Regions from separate parts of the Homo sapiens genome. Here regions 1, 3, 4, 5, 6 and 7 are each linked to region 2. The links are contacts of gene promoters, found by promoter capture Hi-C in blood cells and fetal thymus (Javierre and others, 2016). All regions are on one chromosome and are shown on one strand. The core of a region is centred on a gene start or on the middle of the fragment in contact, and the rest is flanking DNA. Distances in the headings are between cores, read along the strand shown.

The links. The method cuts DNA at HindIII sites, captures the fragments that hold promoters and counts their contacts. A CHiCAGO score of 5 or more calls a contact.
Region 1: a contact is called between a fragment that was not itself captured here and the fragment with the promoter of LINC02313 in region 2, in 1 of 17 cell types (erythroblasts). The highest score is 5.8, in erythroblasts.
Region 3: the fragment with the promoter of NUBPL here is called in contact with the fragment with the promoter of LINC02313 in region 2 in 1 of 17 cell types (naive CD4 T cells); the score reaches 6.2 in naive CD4 T cells.
Region 4: a contact is called between the fragment with the promoter of DTD2 here and the fragment with the promoter of LINC02313 in region 2, in 4 of 17 cell types (naive CD4 T cells, non-activated CD4 T cells, activated CD4 T cells and 1 more). The highest score is 12.0, in naive CD4 T cells.
Region 5: a fragment that was not itself captured here is called in contact with the fragment with the promoter of LINC02313 in region 2 in 3 of 17 cell types (endothelial precursors, megakaryocytes and M0 macrophages); the score reaches 5.3 in endothelial precursors.
Region 6: a fragment that was not itself captured here is called in contact with the fragment with the promoter of LINC02313 in region 2 in 2 of 17 cell types (M1 macrophages and M0 macrophages); the score reaches 6.3 in M1 macrophages.
Region 7: a fragment that was not itself captured here is called in contact with the fragment with the promoter of LINC02313 in region 2 in 1 of 17 cell types (total B cells); the score reaches 6.0 in total B cells.

What each region holds. Positions count from the first base shown.
Region 1 is chr14:32,448,766-32,452,093 of GRCh38, forward strand. The region is part of intron 2 of AKAP6 (A-kinase anchoring protein 6); the gene reads left to right. Among named protein-coding and RNA genes, the nearest start is that of AKAP6, 120 kb to the left of the region's middle. The HindIII fragment of the contact is 722 bases long and covers 1,132-1,853 here.
Region 2 is chr14:31,943,195-31,946,446 of GRCh38, forward strand. LINC02313 (long intergenic non-protein coding RNA 2313) reads left to right here and starts at 1,659. Exons shown (of 2, transcript NR_146544.1): 1 at 1,659-1,914. RefSeq lists an enhancer at 941-2,140. The HindIII fragment of the contact is 3,310 bases long and covers 1-2,501 here.
Region 3 is chr14:31,559,271-31,562,653 of GRCh38, forward strand. NUBPL (NUBP iron-sulfur cluster assembly factor, mitochondrial) reads left to right here and starts at 2,134. Exons shown (of 11, transcript NM_025152.3): 1 at 2,134-2,277; 2 at 2,798-2,945. The coding sequence starts at 2,170. It overlaps NUBPL-DT (NUBPL divergent transcript), which reads right to left and starts at 2,061. Exons shown (of 3, transcript XR_943720.2): 1 at 1,841-2,061. RefSeq lists enhancers at 1,977-2,376, 2,303-2,858. The HindIII fragment of the contact is 6,263 bases long and covers 1,347-3,383 here.
Region 4 is chr14:31,456,000-31,459,443 of GRCh38, forward strand. It overlaps DTD2 (D-aminoacyl-tRNA deacylase 2), which reads right to left and starts at 1,507. Exons shown (of 3, transcript NM_080664.3): 1 at 1,284-1,507. The coding sequence starts at 1,394. RefSeq lists enhancers at 526-1,111, 1,112-1,697, 1,142-1,351, 1,492-1,671. The HindIII fragment of the contact is 653 bases long and covers 944-1,596 here.
Region 5 is chr14:31,511,540-31,515,077 of GRCh38, forward strand. All of the region lies in intron 1 of LOC105370438 (a long non-coding RNA gene), which reads left to right. Among named protein-coding and RNA genes, the nearest start is that of GPR33, 25 kb to the left of the region's middle. The HindIII fragment of the contact is 5,890 bases long and covers 1-3,538 here.
Region 6 is chr14:31,489,853-31,493,024 of GRCh38, forward strand. It overlaps LOC105370438 (a long non-coding RNA gene), which reads left to right and starts at 112. Exons shown (of 4, transcript XR_943723.3): 1 at 112-251. RefSeq lists an enhancer at 2,646-3,172. The HindIII fragment of the contact is 7,142 bases long and covers 1-3,172 here.
Region 7 is chr14:32,302,562-32,305,915 of GRCh38, forward strand. No RefSeq gene overlaps it. Among named protein-coding and RNA genes, the nearest start is that of AKAP6, 25 kb to the right of the region's middle. The HindIII fragment of the contact is 207 bases long and covers 1,508-1,714 here.

The sequences.
Region 1 (3,328 bases), core at 243-2,742, 510 kb after region 2:
ACTATATCATATTGCTTTTTCAGTTTACTTTTTTCCTGATTTCAAAATGGAAAGATCCTGAGAGAGTAAGGGAGATATTAGCAATGCATACTTAATTCTACAATCTTGATTCTACAAGGGAGATATTATTCTAAAGGGAGATATTAGCAATGCATACTTGATTCTACAATCTTGATTCTACAATGTTTAGTAAAAGATAGATACCTGGATTCTTGTTTGCATTAGGTTTCCTCACATACATGAGCATCAGCAACTTTGGGGAAGCTCTCATTCCCAGGTAGAAGATGAGATTGCAGGAGAGATCATCACCCTGACAAATTAACTCTCCAGTCTGCTCTACAATGTCCGAATTTCCTTTACCCTCTACAAAGGCTTTCTATAATTAGAAGTTAGGCATTAAAAATTAATGTCATTGGGAGAAGTAATGCATTCACTTCCATTTACATCAAGAATAAATACCAGGCTGGTGCAGTGACTCATGCCTGTAACCCCAGCACTTTGGGAGGCCGAGGTGAGTGTATTACTTGAGATCAGGAGTTTGAGACCAGCCTTGCCAATGTGGTAAAATCCTGTCTTTTCTAAAAATACAAAACAAACAAACAAAAAATTAGGCAGGCATGGAGGTGCACGCCTCTAATCCCAGCCACTCAGGAGGCTGAGGCAGGAGAATCGCTTGAACCCAGGAGGCAGAGGTTGCAGTGAGCCAAGATAGTGCCACTGCACTCCAGCCTGGGCAATGGAGCTAGACTCCATCTCAAAAAAAAAAAAAAAAAAAAGAAAAAGGAAAAGAATAAATACTTTCTTAGAAAAGATTTTTTGATGGAGAAGACAGCTCTGGTCCCATAAAGAGGGAAGGGAAATGCTTCAGAAAGAGGCCCTGCCAATCAACTGCCAGTTTTTACTTTGAGTCATATGGCCTGAGGACTGATAATCTAATTTAAGTAGAACAAATTAGATTCCAAGCAAGTAGGTAGTAACTGCTAAAATAGTGGAAGGTATTCTTGAAACTAGATTGGGGCTGTCTTCCAGAATTTATAGGGCATATTGAGATGTCCTGGCCCCTTTTCTTGATAGTGGTTAATTTAGTTCAAACTGCCTCAGAGATTTCAGAAGCACACTGAGAGCAATAAAAGCTTGATGCCTCTTTAGTGTCAGCCAGCTTTTAATGGCTGGAATGGGAGTTCTTCAAATTAGTGATAGTCAGTTGTCATGCCTACCCTCGTGCCTCCTTCTTGCCTGCTGGCTGGTTCCAGGAGTGAGGCAGAGTGGAAAGCCCCCAGGATTTGGAGATGGCAGGCCTAGTTCTGCTCCTGTTTCTGCTACTTACTAGAAGTTGGACACCAGGCAATTTAGTAATTTCTATGAACCTGAATTTCCTTAGCTGTAAATATTCACCTCTGAAGATTGTTGTAAAAATCAAGATCATTCTTTAGAAGAATTTTGAAATTTCTGATGCTACATGAAATGTTAGTAGTTCTGATTATGATTCTATCCCAATCCAAATACTGCTTGCTGATTTTGTGACTGTGGTAGGGTGAGCTGGGATGTGTGTGTGTGTGAGAGAGAGAGAGAGAGAGGGAGAGGGAGAGGGATTGATTTGTGGCAACTTATATATGCTACCAATCAAAATACACTCTTCTATAATTTGGTTTTGGTCATTAAAACACAATGAAATATAGGAAATATAGCCTCACTTAACAAGGCCTGCAAGGGGCAGGGCATATTTTGTTTGAAATTTTTAGTTAACACAATGAGATAAAAATAAGTTTGACTCTCCATTGTACTATATTTTTATTGTGTATTAGTATACTTTCTCTTTCAAAAATCAAGTGCATAGTACTGAACATACCTAAAGCTTTCTCAGGATTAATGATACTGAAGTTTTTGAAGTCATCAGTTATAATATCATTTTCACGTAAGAGTAACAGATTTGGATGTATTAAGAGATTTATACTGCAAGTTTGCTCCTTGCTTCAATATCTTTTCTTGAGGTTTCTTTTTTTCCTTCTAAAAAGTAGAAGGAGGGAGGAATCGAATTAATTGAGGGCCTTGGTTAGTTATAGTTTTACTGTTAAGAATGCTACAATTTGGGCCAATTTGGTCTTTAAGAAAGCTTCTTTAAATCCCAATATAGAAAAAATCCCTTCTATGTGAATATGTTTACTATATCATTTATAATAGTAAAATGTTGAAAATAACAAAACGAGGAAAGTGGCTTTATTATTATGTTTTATCTATCTAATATCTGGTAGTGGAAAAAATTAGTTTACTCTATTGCTTTATATTTGCAAGTGGATTGGAATTTGGAAATACTTATGAACAAACAAACATGTCTCCTACTTTGTGCAGGTCTGAAAGTCAGATTAGCCTTTAGCTAGTTTGCATGATTCATCAAGACTAAATTTTATACTGGCTGGTATACAAGAAAATAAGATATTTTGTTGCTTCAGTAATTTTGATATAATCAAAACTCATAAGAAGAAAACATGAGCTTCCTAATTACTACATATTCACTTAGTGAGTTGAATAATTTATTATCCTTTTTTAAAAAACCTGATCCTACTTTCAATGTTCCAGTTCCCATTTTCTGCTTCCTTCCATTTATTTTTCTTTCTGGCCTGTTCTGCAGAGTTTGCACAAAAGATATAGCTTTATTTGTATACAGCTATTTATTTCCTAGTATGTGGACTAGTATCTAGGAAACTTGCCAAATTAGCATAGTTATGCCAAAGTACAGAAACTATGTGTATAAAATGTGCACTTGGGCCTAATATTGCAGGCATTGCAGCTTTTTAGATAAAGCTGTCGTTGACTAATTTATTTCTGTATCTTCTAGTTGTCTCCTAGACACAAGTTGGTTGTTTTTGTTGTTGTTTAAACAAAACATTTAATATTTTTTATTATAAAATAACACATAAAATATCTATGTTGACTGCATTGCCCAATATGGTAGCCACTAGTTACATGTGGCTATTTAAATTTAAATAAATTATAATGAAATAAAACTGAAAAAAATGCAATTTCTTAGTCACACTAGCCACCTTTTAATAGTAGTTAGTGGCAACTGTACTGGACAGCAAAGATTTCCAAATTGTATAGAATTCTATTGGATAGTGCTGATTGATGTCTTAACCCTACTTCCTCCACCCCTTTTCTCCAAATCAAAGGTAAGTTGTGGCCATATTTCTACTTTACCAACTATAACTCTATGCTATCATTTTTCTTTTTCTTTTTCTTTTCTTTACATTTTTTTTTTTTTTTTTTTTTTTTTTTTGAGACATGGTATTGCTCTGTTGCCCAGGCTGGAGTCCAGTGGTGCAATCACGGC
Region 2 (3,252 bases), core at 409-2,908:
TAAATTGAATTTTAAAATTGTGTTTTAAATATACTTAGGGAAGTACAGAAAGGTACCCCAGAACAGGTTGTTTTATAAAGACAACAATAATTTCTGAATTATTTTCATTTCAGCTTTTTATATACTGTGTAGTCACAAAATGAGAGACCCTCCCCCACTCACCCCACCCTCACAGCTCCCCAGAGGAACAATAGCCATGAGCAAACAGTGCTTGCCTCCTGACCTTCGGGTGTTTCTCCTAAAGGCTAGCTCATTTAAGGGCAGCAGTCAGGGGCTTGCTACTCTTCGCAGCCCTGTTTCTTTTCTTGTGATGAGAAGAAACAAGCCCAGGCTGACAGCTGGCCAAGACTTGAACTAGAATGTTGAAGTTGAAAAGTCAAAATGGGTCTGTGTCAAAGGACTAGCAGAGGGGAAGGGACTGTCCTCCGGGGAGCTGAGGAGTGAGGATGGTCCTCACCTCGATCCAGCGATCAAATTCCCCAAGTAAATCCATGTAAAACATGAACTGTGGCCAGCACTTGTTAAGCAAGGAATATTAAAAATCATTGTCATTACTGCTGCTATTATTGTTACAGGCTTGTTCCAAGACTCTGGGTTTTGGCTCAGCTTGTCTAAATGGTCTTCCATCTTAAGGAATCAAGGGGTAGATTTTGGAACCACTAGCTCCATAGCCAAAGAAGGAGCAATCCAGCAACTTAGGCATTGATTCCGCAAGCCGTCCCAGAGCCTCTGTGTAGTCCTTACTTTCCCTAAATTGCCATGACTAGCTGGCTCAAGTTAGGCCTTTCTAATTTACCTGGACCGTTGCTGTCTCCTGTGCACGGCTGCGGGGATGAGCACCTTGTTGTGCGTTCCTCCGCTGGGCTGACGGAAATGGTTTGCAGCCAGACTGCTACGCCACGCGGTCTGGCATTTAGTCCTCAGAAATCTGATTTAGAGAACGTATACATTGCATCACAATCTAGATTTCAGAGGAAAGTTTTGGATAGAATAACCCAGACCCAAGTCTGGGTAATTTAAAGCCTGGGTGAAATGGGGCAGAAAGAGCCCAGAATATACAGGTCTGAATCTTGGCTGGGGTGATGTGGAAGACTGGAGGCGCCAGACGGCTGGCCTCCCTCCAAGTGTTTACCATGCTGGTGCCATGGGGCTGGGGCTGGGCAGTCCATGTGCTCATTCTTCCCTTCTCTTCTCCTCCTCCTCCCCCTCCATCTCTCCTCCTCCTCCTCATGTTTTCTATAGGCTAGAGAAACTCAGGAACTACTGACCCACAGGGAAGGCAAGCGGAGATATGAGACGGAGGAATCAAACGCTGCCCTGGTGGAGGACGCTGTGGGTTTACAGTGGATGATTTCCTCTGCCTATGAGATAAAAGGGCTGGCTCTGTACTTTGAACCCCAGCCTCACCCACCTCTGCCTGGGTGTGGCTCTTACTCTCTGGAAGACTTACTCAGGGGAGAGGACAGGACAGTGTGAGGCTTGAATCTCCAGGAAATAGAGTCTGTGGGCAGCCATTGACTCCGAGTCAATGAGAACAAGGTGTGCTGTTTCCTCTGTGCTGTTTCTTCCCTGCCCCACTCCCCGCCCCTTTGTCCTATGGTGCCCAGGCTGCCTGCACTGCCCAGATACCACAGGCCTTGCCAGGGACCTCCTGAGAGGTTTCTGAGGCTTGCAGCCAGTGGTCCCGTTAGTCTGCACGTCTCCGAGTTGCCCTCCCAGAGGAGAAAGCATATGCTGCTGGGACCGACTGCAGCTCCTCATGGATGCACCTGCCACCAGAAAATTGTTGTTCAGTCTGGGATTGCTTTCTCTTCCCAAAGCACAATCTCACATGCAGTCATGAGCCCAGTCCAGCCTCTGGGACAGAAGATTTCGTGCTTTTATAAACCAACAGCACTGCAGGTGCTGCACAAGGTAAGTGTCTCCCTTATTTCTTTCCCTCCCCGGAAGCCTCTGTATCAAACTAGGAGTTACCTTAATAGGGTCAAAGGAGGGTGTGGCTGTTTCACTTCCTGTTGTCAGCAGCCAAGTGTGCCTGAGGACAGAGGGTGGTGGGCAGGCATCCATTATGTGTAGGGAGGCAGGTATTGTACTGCTCTGGAACACACTGAGGAAGGGGGGTGCTCTGGCTTCCCTGACACCACCTCCCTGGTCAGGCTGCCGCAAGGCACCCAGATGTCAGTTGTCTTCCCACAACCTAATCATTCACAGCTGCTCCAGGGCCACACTTAGGATCTCTTTCCAGCGGTCCTCTTAGTCTGCCCCAGGGGCATGGCAAAGGAGGGCCTTTCATCCAGGGATCTCACACTCACAGAGACTTCACATTTGGATTTTTAAAAATTTATCTCTGAAGATATGCTAATAAGACTGAAAAGATGGAAATGATCATCAGCTTTAAACTTATGCCTGATTTTGGTACCAGGCCCATGAATTTTTAAGATTAATCCTGCCATTATCCCGTGAATAGGATGGTTATATTACCCTGTGCGTTTTTTTTTTAAAGCTTACACGTGTTAAAGCCTTAATTTATTAAATGTAAACTTCTAAAATATAGTATATCACAATTTTTGAAACCCTATTTGGGGATTTCTTCATTTTAATATACCTGAAGCCTCAGATAATGGGCGTGTCCCTGGTCTTTGTCCTCCAAGCGGCCCATTGGCCACTCCCCTCTTGATGGACTGTGGAGAGAAGCTGTTCCCTTTCCACGTGGTCATTTCAACTTCAGAAAAATCTCAGGTGCAATTGCCTGTTTCATTACAGCAGCTAGCCTATAATGAAAGAGGCCTTCGAAGCTTAGGCATGCCCAGTTTGGCCCCTTTCTTCATTTTACACACTGTTTTCTCCTCCCACAGGAAGGCTTCTCTCTACGGGGCTCAAAGCTACAGGCTCTCCACCATAGGGAAAATGGCCGACTAATATTCTTGAGTTCTTTACCCTTAGGCAATGGGGCTCAACTGTGACTGCACATTGGAATCAGTGGAGAGTTTTCCAAACATCCATCCGATGCCTGGGTTCTACCCCCACAGAACCTGATTTACTTGACCTGGGGTGTGGCCTGGGCATTGGAATTTTTTAAAGCACCCCACATGATTTTAATACACTACAAAGTTTCAGAAACAGTGCCCTAAGACCCTGGTTCTCAAACATTAGAATTCATCAGAATAATGTCCTCGTGGGGAGGGTCTTGTTAAAGCATAGATTGCTGGGCACAGTTTCTGATTCAGAGTTTCTGGATGGTACCTGGTAATC
Region 3 (3,383 bases), core at 884-3,383, 380 kb before region 2:
TTCTATAGTTCCCTTAGGATAAAGTCCAAATTTCTTTACAAGATATATACAGCCTTTCTTGATTTAGGCAACCTCCATCTAACCAACCTTCACTCCATCCTCATCTCTTTTAGTCACTTTGTCCTAAGTTGCACAGATCATTTACAGTTCTTAACAATCCAGAAAAGAAATGTATTTTCTACTCCTCTTGTGTTCTCTCTTCTTTTCTCTCTTCTTTCTTTTTTTATTTTTATTTTTGATATCTTTTTTATTTTTTTATTTTTATTTTTTAGTATTTATTGATCATTCTTGGGTATTTCTCGGAGCGGGGGATTTGGCAGGGTCATAGGACAATAGTGGAGGGAAGGTCAGCAGATAAACATGTGAACAAGGGTCTCTGGTTTTCCTAGGCAGAGGACCCTGCGGCCTTCCGCAGTGTTTGTGTCCCTGGGTACTTGAGATTAGGGAGTGGTGATGACTCTTAACGAGCATGCTGCCTTCAAGCATCTGTTTAACAAAGCACATCTTGCACCGCCCTTAATCCATTTAACCCTGAGTGGACACAGCACATGTTTCAGAGAGCACGGGGTTGGGGGTAAGGTTATAGATTAACAGCATCCCAAGGCAGAATAATTTTTCTTAGTACAGAACAAAATGGAGTCTCCTATGTCTACTTCTTTCTACACAGACACAGTAACAATCTGATCTCTCTTTCCTTTCCCCACATTTCCCCCTTTTCTATTCGACAAAACCGCCATCGTCATCATGGCCCGTTCTCAATGAGCTGTTGGGTACACCTCCTAGACAGGGTGGCGGCTGGGCAGAGGGGCCCCTCACTTCCCAGACGGGGTGGCCGGGCAGAGGTGACTCCACCTCCCGGACGGGGTGGCGGCCGGGCGGGGTCTGCCCCCCACCTCCCTCCGGGACGGGGCGGCTGACCGGATGGGGGCTGCCCCCCACGTCCCTCCCGGACGGGGCAGCTGGCCGGGCGGGGGCTTTTCTCTCTTCTTTCATCTTTCTTCCTTCTACTCTCTTCTTCTTTCTTCTTCCTTCTTCTTTCTTCTCCTTTTAATTTCCTCTTCCTCCTTCCTCCTTCCTTCTTTCTTCTTCTTCTGACAAGGTGTCACTCTGCTGCCCACGCTGGAGTGCAGTGGTGCAATCATAGCTCACTGCATCCTTGAACTCCTGGCTCAAGCAATCCTCTTGCTTTGGCCTCCCAAAGTGTTGGAATTACACGCGTGAGCCACCATGCCTAGCCTTAGCAGTCCATTTCTAACCTCTTTACAACAATCTCCTTGCCATTCTCCCAGCTAACTTCTACACATTATTCAGATTCAGCATTCAGCTTAGATATTACCTAATTTAGAAGCTTCCCCTGATTGAATTGAGTGCCCTTTCTTTGTATCACTTTGTCCTTTCTCCTGTATCCCTCAATGCTTTTCTCCTGTACTTATCATATTATACCGCAATTTTGTTGTTAACTTATTCTGTCTTTTGCACTGGATTATAAAGCCCTTTAGTGGAGGAATTATGTCGGTCTCAATGCTGAATATTTTAAGTCTACTGTAGTACTCGGTACATAGTAGTTGCTCAACGAATATTTGTTAAATAAATGAGTCTTAAGTCTGGAAGAACTTGCAAAGTTCTTTACCAGGTTGCTGGTAAAGCAACCTGACCTTTCTTTCAGGGAACTGTCAGCAACACAAGCCATGAATACCAACGCAAAACAGACTCTCACTGTAGATCACACGGGAAAAAATAAAATAAAAAGGTAAAATCCTTAACGGTGGTAGTATTTAAATGACCATATACTGCTTAGTAAGAAATCCTGGGGTCATTTTCAAGGTCCCCCATTTCCTACTTTTGTTAAGCTGGGTCAAGTCTCTTTAAACTTTCTCCGTTTTCTTGTCCATAAAAAGAGTATACTAGGTAAGTCTTCTGTCTACCTCGGGACTTCTGTAAGTATCATAAGAGATGTTTTATATGACAACACTTCACAAACGTTTAGTAAAACGCTGCAAAATGTTTGTAGCTGGCTATAAACAAGATCATGCAGATTGGGTTCCTGAGCCAACAAACCCAAAGAAGACCGGTTGCTAGGAAGAGAAAGCCGAGCGTTGCTCCGTGACGTCATCACTCCGCGCCACCCGCGACAGTTTCCCAGCAGGGCTCACAGCAGCGTTCCGCGTCATGGGGATTTGGCAGCGTCTGCTGCTTTTTGGTGGGGTGTCGCTCCGGGCTGGTGGCGGGGCCACTGCCCCGCTTGGGGGAAGCCGAGCGATGGTTTGTGGGCGCCAGGTCCGTGGTGCTGCAGGGCAGGGGGAAGCGGGCTGACAGATGCTGGGCTGCAGGGCCGCAGATGCCCTGGCATTGCTTCTTGCCAAAGACTCGCCTCAGTTCCTGAGACCCCCAGTGTGCTGGACGTGCCTACTTTTCAGGCAGGCCCAGGCTGAGGCGTGGCGGGACTTGAAACACAGTTAGAACGTAGATGTGGTATTCTACATTGCTTTCTTGGCTTTGGGTTATTTATCAAATAGATTGAAGAAAAGCAAAACACGTGGAAGCCTTATCTCCGTAAAGAGGCAGCGTTTTTACATTTTTAAACGTTCAGCGTATCCTGCTAGAAAAATTTCAATTTAAGCAATGTGTCTTTACAATTGTTATCAGTAGTAGTAGGTAAATGTCTCCATAGTGAAGATGAGCAGAATTAGAAAAGAAAGCCCTCTTAATTGCAAACCCCAGATTGTTTTTGCTTTTACAGTGTGATGATGGAGATGGCTTATTTAAAACGGCTTTTTATTATTATTATTTTTTAAAGTTGTCTGGCGCCGGGAGTGAGACCCTAAAACAAAGAAGAACACAAATCATGTCCCGAGGACTTCCAAAGCAGAAACCGATAGAAGGTGTTAAACAAGTTATAGTTGTGGCTTCTGGAAAGGGTGGAGTCGGAAAATCTACTACAGCAGGTATTATAGGATATTAATTCTATTCCTGATTAAGAACTTATGCCAACAGACAAGTGCACACTATTGAAATTATAGTTTTGTGTTTTAAAAATTTATTTGTGAAGTTCCTAACATGTGATTCCTTAGTTTCAGGAGTTGGTAGCGGGTAGACGCTTAGATTTTGGAGTTAGACAAAAGTAGGTACTAGCCGGGTCTCCCACCCCTTAACTCAGGAAAAAGTGGTCAGATTGTACAGCAAATCTTCAGTTCACTTAACTGTAAAATGGAGATAACTTCTTTCATAAGATGGTTATTCAAATTGCACAAGCTAACCACTTAGCTTAGTGTTTACTAGTGTTCAATAATTGGTTGCTGTTATTTTTAAAACATCTAGTAACTTTTTTTTTTTGTTTTTTTTTTTTTTTTTGAGACGGAATCTCGCTCTGTCACCCAGGCTGT
Region 4 (3,444 bases), core at 257-2,756, 490 kb before region 2:
ATACAGGAATTTCTATGCTTATATTTCCAAATTAGCACAGGGCAACAGATTCTGATTTTAGAATAATCACCCACACATCATATAGTTCACGGGTACTATTTACAATAAGTAGGCGGGGTGCGGTGGCTCAGGCTTGTAATCCCAGCAGTTTGGGAGGCTGAGGCAGGTGGATCACCTGAGGTCAGGAGTTCCAGACAAGCCTGGCCAAAATGGCGAAACCCCGTCTCTGCTAAAAATACAAGTTAGCGTGGTAGCTTGCGCCTGTTGTCCCAGCTACTCGGGAGGCTGAGGAAGGAAAATTGCTTGAACCCGGGAGGCGGAGGTTGCAGTGAGCCGAGATCGTGCCACTGCACTCCAGCCTGGGCGACAGATCGAGAATTCATCTCAAAAAATAAAATAAAATATAAATAAATAAAATATAAAAAATAAAATAAATGTAAAATAATAACTAAAATTGTTTTAAGTAATGCTAGATCTGGGACCGAATTCAGCAGAAAAGGCGAGCGAATGAGATTTTGCTACACTGAAGTTTCTGAGTATCTACAAAAGTCTTAATTATGAACTAATTTTTTTCTTACATTTCAACGTACTCCAAAAATACGTCAGAGGCCTTAAAGAAAATTTTATTTGTTTTTGTATGCAGTGGGGGCAGGCGGTCTTAAAAAGTAAAGTATGTATGAAAGTAGAAGGAACTCATAGTGACATAAATGTTTTAAATTCTTTGGAGAAATGTGTTTGATAAGGCAACATTGTTATAAAAGTAGAGGTCTTTGTTTCTCAGTTGGAAATTGGTCAAAACTTTTAAAAGGCTTCTTGAAATAGAATTGTTTCTTAGGAAATCTCATTTCTATGCTAAGACCAAGTCAACATAGGGGGGAATTCGACGCGATCTGAGGCGTAAGTCAAAGCAGATCATGAACTCTTGCAGCAAACCTGACCTACAAGCTTGCCCCCGACCAGCATAGACCACGAGCTGCAAGGGGTCTGAGACAGTAAGGCCTGAAGTTCACCGAACTCAGTTTCAAATACCTGTGGTCCCCCCAAGAAGGGAGACACGCTCTTCCTCTCGGGTGCTACAACTGGCGCTGGGGAACGGTGATGCTGGACCGAAAAGACAAGCGCAGCCAGGCAGGCCACCGCGGCCAGCTTCAAGCTGACCCGGTATCCCCGCGGCCGGACCGCCGGTCTCAGAGGGAGACACAGAGCGGACGAGTCACCGAGACAACGCGGAAAAAACCGCCCCGCACGCCGGAGGATAACGAGAGCTGCCGGGCTGACGTTACCTCCACCCACTGGGCCGCGACGTCCCCATCGGCTGGGCGAATTTGCAGCCGGGCGTGCAGGCACTGCTGTAGGAGCGCCCGGGCCTGAGGAATCCGGCTACCCTCAGCCATGGCTTAAGCCAGCGCCGCGGCCGGACAGTTACTAGGCCATGTGTCGCTGGCCCCTCCCTCGACGCGCTGGCGGGGCAGACGAGGCGGGGCACGACGAAGGGCCTGCGCCGATTGCCCAGTGGCCCCGCCCTTAGGAGGGCGGGGCCTCGGACTGACTCTCGAATGTCCCGGATGTGCGGTCTTGGAGGCCGGCGTAGCGCTAAGCTTCTCGGCAGCACCTGCCCAACTCTGTAGAAGGCGCTCAGTGTATACTTTTATTAAACGATTGAAAAGACTCGTTAAATCTCTTTCCTACAAACCTTTTAAGAAACATTTTTCACCTCAGAAAGCTTAGGTTCCAACTGTTGAAAAATTTTAAATCTGCTTGATTTAAATTCATGTTATGCCCATATGAAAGTAAGTAAACAAATAATCGAATCATAAAGCAAGCGGAGATGGAACTAAAAGCTATATATACATCCTTCAAAATTTTCCTTATTCCAATCAATAAAAACAATGCTGCCTCCTCTATCGGGAATGCCATAAATTATTCTGATTCCACAGTTGTGAAAAGGTATTGGTATGCTATACGAATACACATTCTTTAGAAGATATCCTTGTTAAAAATGTTCTTATCCAAGAAAGTATGATTGTTAATAACTTAGCCCGCTACTAATACAAAAATAAAACAGCTTATTCTGATGCATATGACGTAAATTCTGTGATGCATTTTCTGGAAGTACATATTAGAATGTAAATAAAACTAAACAAGGGCTTGATTTTCTTTCCCATGTAACGTATTCCTTAAACATGCATCAGATTAGCATTTATTTGTCTATGGGCTTGGATGGTTTAGATGAGGAATAATAGTGTTACCCTGATTGCATTACCCAGGTCATTGATTTGGGCTCAGTTGACACAATGTGCCTATACATTCGGATCTGTTGTTTAAAAAGATGACATCACTGACAGTGTTGCTATCCATACAAAGTAGTGTGACTGAAGAAAATAGTCCATGCATAATCAACAGTCCTTTGTACACAAAATCGAAGCTGCTTGTTTGCTGGTTATCTTGCAGCCAGGTTTACACTTTTAGTAAAAACAGAAAGCAAAATCTCACATGATCTCTGATTGTTGCATTGCAGGGATTCCAACAGTTGTTGACATTTGTCTGCAAAGCACAGACAAGTTGAATTGCTTCATGTCTGCACCTTTATGTCATTATAACTACTGAGTCTCTTTTCTCTCCGGCTCTCAGATTCAGATTTTACAGGCCTGAAAGAAACTTTGACATACAAACCATTAGCTATGTCCCAGAATAAGAAAAGACTTTGGTGTCCATTTGTATGTGGCTGCAGGAAATAGGGAGGTCTATAGAGAATAGGTTATGTGGTTCGCAGAGATCTTTCTACAGAGAGGGTTTCTTTAACAAATTGGGAAACCCTTCCTGTGAGTAGAATAGATGGAGTATGGATGGTAATGGTTAGCTTCTCAAAAATCACTAATTACTTTAAACCCTCCTATTGAGTGAGGATCTCGTGGACATTGCTGTAGGTACTGTAATAGGCTGTGGCTCACTTATTTTTTACTTCTATTTGCAGAAGGCTATAGAGAGTGGCCACCAAAGACAGCATTTCCTTTCTGTATTTTATTTTTTGAACACTTAGTTTCATTCTGCAAATAATTTAAGAAGGAAGGACATGCATGCAATAAAATAGTAAAATGTGAATTAAAGCATTAGAAATAAAGAAACTAGAATTATGTCAGTAAGCCACAATGGGGGAAATTGAAAACAGGTAAGACAGTGGTTCTCAACTGGAGTGCTGAGATGATATAGTATGCAGCAAAATTTTCACAAATGTATAACTTTAATTTTTGTTATAAAACAATTATGTTCATTGTATGTAGTATTGAGGTGCTGTAGGTTGTACAATTTGTTTCAAGTTGGAACTAAAGGCAAAGCATAGCATTAAGTTGGCTTTACAAGAAGATGGTGGTTCACTGGAATGTGAGAGAGCTTTGCCTTGTCATTGTATGAGAAATCATTGAGCAGAGATAATTCTCAAACACC
Region 5 (3,538 bases), core at 502-3,001, 430 kb before region 2:
GTGTTGCTCGGGCTAGTCTTGATCTCCTGCGCTCAAGCAATCGTCCTGCCTCAGCTTCACACGGGGCTGGGATTACAGGCATGAGCCACCATGCCCGGCCTACTTCTATTTTGATGTGTCTATAGGAGGTCGGGGTAGGAGGTATGAAGACTGTAGGAATCAGAGAAGGTTTTGTGAAGAATGTTGCATTTGAGCAGGGTTTAAAGATATTAAGGATATAGAAATGTGGCAATTACAGGAAAAACATTTCAAGTTCAGGGAGCACAGTGAGCAAAGGCATGGAGGTAAAATGCAAAGATGTATAAACTTCACACCGGCATTAAACAGAGGAAAGACCTGGTGATTTAAAAAGATTTAAATCTAATCCAACATGTGACATAAATTTAGTTTCACCTGTGACTGTTTGTGATGGTTAATTTTATGTGTCTGGGCCACAGGGTACCCAGATATTTGGTCAAATTTTTTTTGGGCTATTTCTATGGAAAGTTTTTGGATAAGATTAACATACACACACACATTTATTTAGAGACAGAGTCCCATTCTGTCGCCCAGGTTGGAGTGCAGAGGCGCCATCACGGCTCACTCCAGCCTCTACATCCCGGGTTCAAGCCATCCTTCTGCGTAGCCCCCAGAGTAGCTGGGACTACAGGCTTGCACCACCACAACTGGCTAATTTTGGTATTTTTTGTAGAGACGGGTTTTTGCCATGTTGCCGAGGCTGGTCTCAAACTCCTGAGCTCAAGTGATCCACCCGCCTTAGCCTCCCAAAGTGCTGGGATTACAGGTATGAGCCACTGAACCTGGCCCAAGATCAACATTTATTTATTTATTTATTTTATTTTTTTTGAGACAGAGTCTCGCTCTTTTGCTGAGGCTGGAGTGCAGCGGCGTGATCTCAGCTCACTGCAACCTCTGCCTCCTGGGTTCAAGCGATTCTCCTGCCTCAGGCTCCCAAGTAGCTGGGATTACAGGCGTGTACCACCATGCCTGGCTAATTTTTGTGTTTTTAGTCGAGAGGAGGTTTCACCATGTTGGCCAGGCTGGTCTTGAATTCCTGGCCTGAAGTGATCCACCCACCTGGGCCTCCCAAAATGCTGGGATTACAGGCATGAGCCATGGTGCCCGACCCAAGATTGACATTTAAATCTATAGACTAAGTAAAGCAGATTGCCTTCCATAATGTGGGTGGGCCTATTCAGTTGAAAGCCTGAATAGACCAAAAAAAACGGACCCTCCTCCAAGTAAAAGAGAATTCTCCTGCTTGAGACCTTTGAACTAGGACATGGGCTTTTCCTGGTTCTCCAGCAACGTGCTCCTGTTTGGACTTAAACTGAGACATCAGCTTTGCAGATTTTAAATTTGCCAGCCTCCATAATCACTTGGGTGAATTCCCTGTAATAAATCTATCTATTGATCTACCAATCGATCCATTTATCTATCCATTCATGCATCCTATTGCTGCTGTTTCTTAATACTGTTTAAAAGAAAGCATCTAATAATCTACCAACAAATATTTATTAGGTGTCATTTTAATCCCAGTGCTCTGCTAAACAATGGAAAAAATACTAGAGTAGCATAAATCTATAGTGAATAAATCCCAGAACTACTTCAATGAATATATACTGATAAAACTAATTTATTTAAAATCAATGTTTACTTTATTAATTTATTATTAAAGAAAACAATTAAAACTGTAACTTGGAGGAAAGTGGAAAAATAAATTATAACCCCAACAGCCTAATACAACCACTGTTAGCATCTAGTGTATTTTCTTTCAGTAACTTTTCCCTTTGTGGTATTTGATGTATATAAAATATTAGTTTATGAAAAATCATGCTGTCAATTCTTTTCTTTAACATGATATCACAGGTCAGATACAGTGGCTCATGCCTGTAATCATAACACTTTGGGAGGCTGAGGTGGAAGGGATAGCTTGAGCCCAGGAGATGGAGTTCACAGTGAGCCAAGATCATGCCACTGCACTCCAGCCTGTCCAGCCTGGGTGACAGAGCGAGACTCTGTTCCAAAAAACAACAACAACAACAACCAACCAACCAACCAACCCAAACATTATATCATAAACATTTCCCCATTTGTTTCATAATCTTAAGAATTATAATTTTTAATGGCTGTACAATACATAGTCTGCAAACATATAATTTTTATAATCATTTCCTTATTTTTGGATATTTAGATTATGCAGATTTTTTCTTTTTCTTTTTTTCTTTTTTTTTTTTGAGACAGAGTTTCACCCTTTTCACCCAGGCTGGAATGCAATGGTGCGAACTCGGCTCACTGCAACCTCTGCCTCCCACGTTCAAGTGATTCTTCTGCCTCAATTCCCAAGTAGCTGGGATTACAGGCGCCCACCACCACGCCCAGCTAATTTTCGTATTTTCAGTAGAGATGGGGTTCCACCATATTGGCCAGGCTGGTCTCGAACTCCGTATCTCAGGTGATACACCCACCTCTGCCTCCCAAAGTGCTGGGATTACAGGCATGAGCCACCACGCCCAGCCGATTTTTTCTGTTTTTAAGATCATCAATATAAATATCTTTATTACAGTCTTCTCACAGTTTGAATTATTTAAGAACAAATTCCTAGAACTGGTATTATTAAATCACCAGGTATGAAGTCTATATAGTAAGTCTAAATTGTTTTTCACAAATATTATACCAATTTGTAAGGCCATTGACTTTGACCATACATTTGCCTACCTAGTATTCATTCTCACCTTCATTAATCAAAGACTTTTTTTTTTTTAAGTGGGAATGTGACTTGTTATAAAAGCCTCATTTCCTCAGACTCCCTTGCATCTAGGTACGTCCATATGACCGAGATGTGGTCTATGATGGTTACAGGGTTCCGCTATGAGACACACTTTTGTTTTATTACATAAAAGGAACATGCTCTGCTGGCACACACTTTTTCCTCTTTTCCGCTCTTCTTTCTGACTGCAGGTAGAGCAGCCTTCTTGCAACTTTGAGGATGAAAGCTACAAGTTAAAGTGGTGGAAAAGGAAGCCAGAAGGAGCTTGTGACTTTCTTGAACATCTGCACCAGCTCTGGTCTCCTTTCTCTGGAATTCTTGTTACATGAATAAATTAATATGTGTTTGGTTAAGCAACTGTAGTCATATTTCTGCTGCATGAAATCAAAGGAAAACCTAATAGTAACATATATGCATAGTTATTCTCCACAATAATGAATATTGTCACTACAATTAGTGGGGATGGGGCACTGAGTTGGTACTCTTGATTGCAAATAACAAAAAACCTAAGCTGGTTTAAAGAAAAAAGGGAATTCACTGGTCCATGTACTGGGGGAGGTAGAGGGGTTGAATTCAGGCTTCACGAAGTAGCATCAGTAACACTTTTAGGTCTGACCTCTTTCTCCCTTTCCCTTTTTCCTCTCTCTCCCTTTCACATATCTCCTTTGCTTTCCTCTGTGTGTTGATCTCTTCTCTCCTACAAAAAAATGGACTTCTTCCACGCAACTGGAGAAATTGACCATGTTGGTTGAATGTCAGGAGAAAGAA
Region 6 (3,172 bases), core at 514-3,013, 450 kb before region 2:
CAGTTCACTTTTCATATTTCAAATCAAGTCAGATGATTTCAAAAAAGAACTTATGGAAATGGAAACAGTTTTATGTTGTTTTGATATAACCACTGTTTGAAGCAGAAATGCAGAAGCAGATGGTACTGCTGAACCAAATGTGTGAAAGGCTAGTAACTCATAGATGCATATAATTTTTAGAGTTGGAAGAGACCAAGGAGTTAAATTCATCTAACTCCCATTCTATAAGTATTTCAGATGACTGCAGTTGTGTAAGTTATTTATGAATATGATTTGTCTGCTTATAAATGTTGTGCCTGGATGACTGTCCTTAGTATACTTGTTTATGCTTGCAAAAATATGTATGTTATTATTGCCTATTTTATTGTGTAAAGTGGCCTATAAAGTGTTCTGTTGTTTTTGTTACTTTGTTTTGTTGTTGATGCTGTTTTTAAGAGACAATGTCTCTCTCTATCATCCAGGCTGGAGTGTGGTGGAGTGATCACGACTGACTGCAGTCTTGACCTCCCAGGCTTAAGTGATCTTCCCACTTCAGCCTCCCCAAGTCACTGGGACTACAGGCGTATGCCACTGCAGTGGGCTATTTTTTTATTTTTTGTAGAGACGAGGTTTCACTATCTTGCCCAGGCTGATATTGAACTCCTGGGCTCAAGTGATTCTCCTGCCTTGGCCTCCCGAAATGCTGGGATTATAGGCATGAGCCACTTCACCTGGCCAATATGTTTCTCAAATAAATCTTTTAAAAATGTAAATGCCTTTAAAGAACTTAAAAAATTTTTTTTAGAATTTTTTTTTTCAGAATTTTGATCTTTTAGGATTTCAACATTTGGGATTGTGGCCCAAACCCCTATAGGTAAGGGTTTAGCACAGTACCTGGCACATGATATGTATTAAATATATGATAGCTAATGCCAGGTGGGGTGTCAGAGCCTTGCCACAGAGAGTGATCGGCTTGAAGGTGGTAAAAAGAATTTACCAACAAAAGTATAGGTTTGAAAAGGAAAGTTGTATTAGATGGAAAGAACACTGTGGCAGAGTGCAATGGGCGGGCGCTTCGGCAAGAGAGGACTGAGGGAGCTGCAGTGGATTTTCCTTAGGGGTATTTATGGACCTTCAAGCAGGAGCTTAAGGATAATTTGGACCATATTAGTCACACAGGTAATGATAAATGATTACATTTGTAGACATTTTGGTGCTGTGACATCAGTAAGAATTGCACAGTGAGTTTTGACACGCATGCAGTCTGAAGATCTATAGAAATTCTAGTTACTTATAAGTTTTTGGGAAAGAAGCCTGGTACCAGATGCCAGCTTTAGATAGGAAGGACATCTAATTACTTCTGAATTCCTCAGATAAGGAGTTTTGCCTCCAGATGGTCTGCTTGCTGACCACCAGGTGATCTTTGCTCTCCTCAGCTAACATTAATATTATGTAAGTTGTAGTAGAGAACACCTGCAAGTCCAGTGGGCTGGAGCAAATCTCTGAGCAATGCAATTCAAGAAACATTCATTGAGTATCTATTGCATGTAAGACAGTATTTGAGACTGGGGAAAATAAAGTAAGTACTTCAAAATAATTGCCCTTAATGTTTGTAGTTATTAAAGGTGATACCTGAACTCAATAGCTTAGGGATGTTGGGGAGGGCATATTCTGGGTCTTGGAAACAGTATGCTTAAAGGCAAAGCTGAAGAGAGCAATGCTTCATTTTTCTGGCCTGGTTCTGTACTTTTCAAGGTCACTTCTCACCACCCTCCATATTCCAGCATAGTGACAGTGACAATGCAGGTGTCACTCCAGTGCTTTCTAGCCTGGCTGAAGTCACACTCACCTGGAAATCTTTAAAAACATACAAGGTGTTCCTGAGATTTCATTCATGCAATGTTTACCAAGTATTTATTGTATTTGAAGCACTATTCTTGCCACTGGGGAGAGACAGTGATAAGAGCTGTATTCTTATGGAGCTTACATTCTAGTGGGGAGAAGTGAGCATTAAACCAGTAAATAGAGGCAGATACGGTGGCTCATGCCTGTAATCCCAGCACTTTGGGGGCTGAGGAGGGTGGATCGCCTGAGGTCAGGAGTTCAAGACCAGCCTGGCCAACATAATGAAACCCCATCTTTACTAAAAATACAAAAAAAAAAAAAAAATTAACTGGGTGTTGTAATCCCAGCTACTCGAGAGGCTGAGGCAGGAGAATCGTTTGAACCCGTGAGGCAGAGGTTGCCATGAGCCGAGATCACGCCGTTGCCCTCCAGCCTGGGCAACAAGAGTGAAATTCCATCTCAAAAACAAAAAAACAAAACAAAACAAAAACAGTAAATAAACACAGAAAGAAGAGAAACATCAGCAAGCACTACAGTGCTATGCAGAATATTAAAACATAGAAATGTGAGATCATCATGGCAGATGGGAGACAGGACTAGATTGCAGCTCTAACTCGGACGGACAGAGCAGTGTGTGGAGGCTCACATCATGAATTTTAGCTCCAGAACGACTGCAGGAACAAAGCAGGAATCCCAAGAGGACCCACAGACCCTCTGAAGGAAGCAGACTGCTCCTGCAGGACCCAGGAGACACCCCAAATACTGTGAGTGCCCAAACTGCAGAAGTGGGAAAGGGAGACCCTCCTCTCCAGAACACACAACCCCACTAGGGAAAATGAACGTCTAGTTTGTGGGAAGTTTCACACCTTACCAGGAGCTGAGGCAATTTAGAGAGGCAAGTGAATTATGCAGCAGAGGAACAGGAAAGGTCCTGGGAACTTGCTGGGTCCCCAAGCAGGCCTTTCCTGCCTGGCCCCACAGGGATCCTTTTGGGAGGGCAGCCAGAGGTGTGGGGGAGTGGGGTGGGGGATGCCACAGGGAGAAGGAAGTCTCCAGCTAAACTTTGTAACAATTTGACCTGGGCAAGAAGCCTCCTGGCCAGAACTCTGGCGAGGGTGTGAATCCGGCATCCAGACTCCACAGGTGAGGGAGGAACCAAACCCTTTTCTTTTGCAGCTGGGAGGCGGGTAGCCTGGGGCAAGTTCTCAAGCCCTGCTTGCTCACTGCCTGGAAACAGACTCGTGGCTGTTAGGGATGGCACAGTGGGAATGAGAATGGCCCTTTGGATTGTGTGGGACCTGGGTGAGGCCTGTGACTGCCAGCTTTATCCCACTTCCCTGACAACCTG
Region 7 (3,354 bases), core at 361-2,860, 360 kb after region 2:
GCTTAAATGGCGCACATCTTCTTTCTCTGTTTTATATAATATATATTCTGTCATAATAGAATATATATTCTGTATATATTATATATTTAAGACAAAATCGACCCTATAATATACTCTTTTGCAACTTACTTTTTTACAATATTTAGTTGCTTACAATATGAATGAGATTCCTGGGCATATCTCTGTCTCTCTCTCTTTTTTTTTTTTTTTTTTTTGTGATGTCTCTCTTTGTTGCCCAGGCTGGAATGCAGTGGCATGATCTTGGCTTACTGGAGCCTCTGCCTCTTGAGTTCAAGCGATTCTCCTGCCTCAGCTTCCCGAGTAGCTGGGACTATAGGCGCGCACCACTGTGCCTGGCTAATTTTTGCAGTTTTTAGTAGAGACAGGGTTTCACCATGTTGGCCAGGCTGGTCTTGAACTCCTAACCTCAGGTGATCCACCCACCTCAGCCTCCCAAATTGCTGGGATTACAGGCATGAGCCACTGTACCTGGCCCCTGGGCATATATCTCAAAGCAGTGAGGTATAATCATTATATGCATGTGGCATTGTAAATAATTACAGTTTTTCATACTATGCTTAAATTAGCAACATTAGCAGGTTTAGTTGGGAAATATCTTAAGGTTGAGAGCAGTTTTTAAAACATTTATTTTAAATCTTAGTGAGAAAAAACATTTGGGCTTATTAGCATCTGAGGTCAAAAGGACAGTGAGTAAATTATATAATGTTTGTTTATTGATCCTTAAGTCACTGGACTTTCAATCCACAATATCACCAGCTCCTTGTGTGGGCTACATGTGCTCTGTGAAGTGCAGTTACTTCATTAAAAGAAAAACTATTTATTTTGAAATAATTTTAGATTTACAGAAGATTTGCAAAGCTAGTACAGAGAGTTCCAAAAAACCCGTCACTCAGCTTCCTCTAAATGTTAACATGTTATGTATCCATAGTTATATTCATTTTTTTCAGTGGCTTAGGATGAACAATCATTTAGACTTAGAAAGTGATTCGTTTAAAAGAATGAGATTTTATATAGACCACACTTGAATTTAGGTCCTATATCATATTTGTTAGCAAAATTAAGCAATTCCAGGCAAGTTACTTTTCTGTAAAAATGGGGTGCCATCTTTCTTACTAGGTCCTAGTGGGGATTAAACATACATGGAATCATCTTGTAAGGTTTTGTGTACTATAAGGTACACAGTAGACGCTTAGTAAATGTTCATTTCTTCTTCCCTCTCCCTCTCTCACCATTCTTTTTTTTTTTTTTTTTTTTGAGCAAACACGACAATGGACGTTCTTTTTGCTCCCTTCTATCCCTTCCTTCTCTCCTTTCTTTCTTCATATCATTGGACAATGTTACTTTTTTCTAGGCTTTTGGTTTCTGCTTTTGTATCTGTCCCCAACCATACTGCTTTGTCAGTCCTCCAGTTCCAGCACTTTCTGATGCTGAGTGAAGAGATGACCTTTTTGACCTGTTTCTCAGCCTCTTGCTGATTTAGCCTGAAAGCTTCAATGTTCATCAACCTGAGTCTGAAGTACAAAATGTTTCCACATCAGTAACAAGGACACAGAGTAGTTGTAAGGAAGAAAATGAAACCAACTATAGGTTGCAAAATATGTGACTGTAGGGGCACCCAGACAAGAATATAAACTCTGAAAGACAACTCAAGCCCCCCTACACTTTAACACTGGAAGGGATCCCTAGTACATGAAGCTTAAGATCCTTTATATAAATAATCAAAATTTTAGCCGGTGGGACTCAGATCCTTAATGGGCTAATCTACTCTTGTCATTTACTCTGACAAATGTCCACAGGGAAGGGAAACAGTACAATACTGGCACCATTTCACCTCTCAACAAAAATCTGCTTAAAACCAGATGCCTAGTGGCCATATGACAGACGTTCCACCCTGAGGAGGAGGCTCCCCTCAGGGATCCAGGAGAGACAGGGGTGATTATGCTGCACGCCTGCTTCCAAGCATAATAGGCAGACAGGGAGGGAGAGATGGAGCCCTGAACATCTTGGAGGTGACACCCTCTGGGCCACAAGTACTCCATACAGGATTTAGCACAGCTCAGCAGCTGTCCCATGGTGGCAGCCCTTTCTGCCATATGGGGGGAGCAAGATTGGGCATGGAATTGGCATCCCCAGGCTGGTACAAACACCATTGTGTATGTGAAAATGTGGGTCAGAGGCCTGATTTGAGAGTGAGGGAGGAAAAGGGGGGAGAATAGGTACTGTCAATAATTCCCAGTGGTTCTTTAAAAAAATTTTTTTTAATTCAAGGACTAGTCATTCTGGTCCCTAAGTCACAATAGAAGAGAGGGGTGAGTGTTACTTTGCCATCATCAAGGGCTACAATAAGGAAAAACAATAATCAGTGTCAGGATGACAAGGAGTTTCACTAAGAGGAAATGTTTGCCCATGGTGGGTTTGTTCAGAAGTCTACCAGGAATCGTTGGAAAGATCACCAAATGAAAACTCCACCATTTAGTAAAGAAAATGGAAGCTGGATGTGAGGAAAGTAGGATTTCTGTAACAGCCACATGTTCAAATGTGTAGCAGGGCAGGAAGTAGGGTGCTGAGGCCTGAAAGTATCCTTGACTGTGGAAGCTGTGGCTGGGCCAGGAGGACCAGAAGGCTCCTTCTTTTACTGAGTGATGCTGGCAGCGGAGGGGGAGAAAAGGGGCAATCAGGGACCTATTTTTTTATGGTTAGAGATTAAGTCATTAGCATTAAAACATATTGGGTATTTGAACTTTGTAGGGTGGTAGAAATATAATCATTTTGACTAAGGGCTCAGTGTTAGGAATATTTGAGTTTGTGGAAATATAATTTGTTGTCTTTTATTTTAGAAGAAAAACACTAACATGTCATATCAGTACAGCCATATGACCTAGTGGAAAAATGGCTGAGAAACAACAAACTTGATTTGTGGTCTAGATTCTTCACTGATTTAGTTTTTTTATCCATCACTGGGATGACAATAACAGCTACTTAGCCATGTGCCAGGTACTTCCTATGTATTAGCTCATTTAATCCTCCAGAAAGCCTTTGATACAGGTGCTCTTATCATCCTCTTTATTTTATAGTGAAGGAGGTGAGCCCTGAGTTAAGTAACTTACCCAGTGTCATATAGCTAATGAATGATAGAGCTGCCTTCGGATCCTAGGTTGCCTGGCTCCAGAGCCTATATGTTCAACTTTCATATGATACTGTCCACTCTATTTACCTAAGAGAGTGTGGCAAAGATAAAATTAGGTAATAGAAAGGAACAGGCTAGTTTTGAGATGGCTACCAGACTTGAAAGAGCCCACCCCTTGGAGCCTGAAAAAGCTTACCATCTTCCTG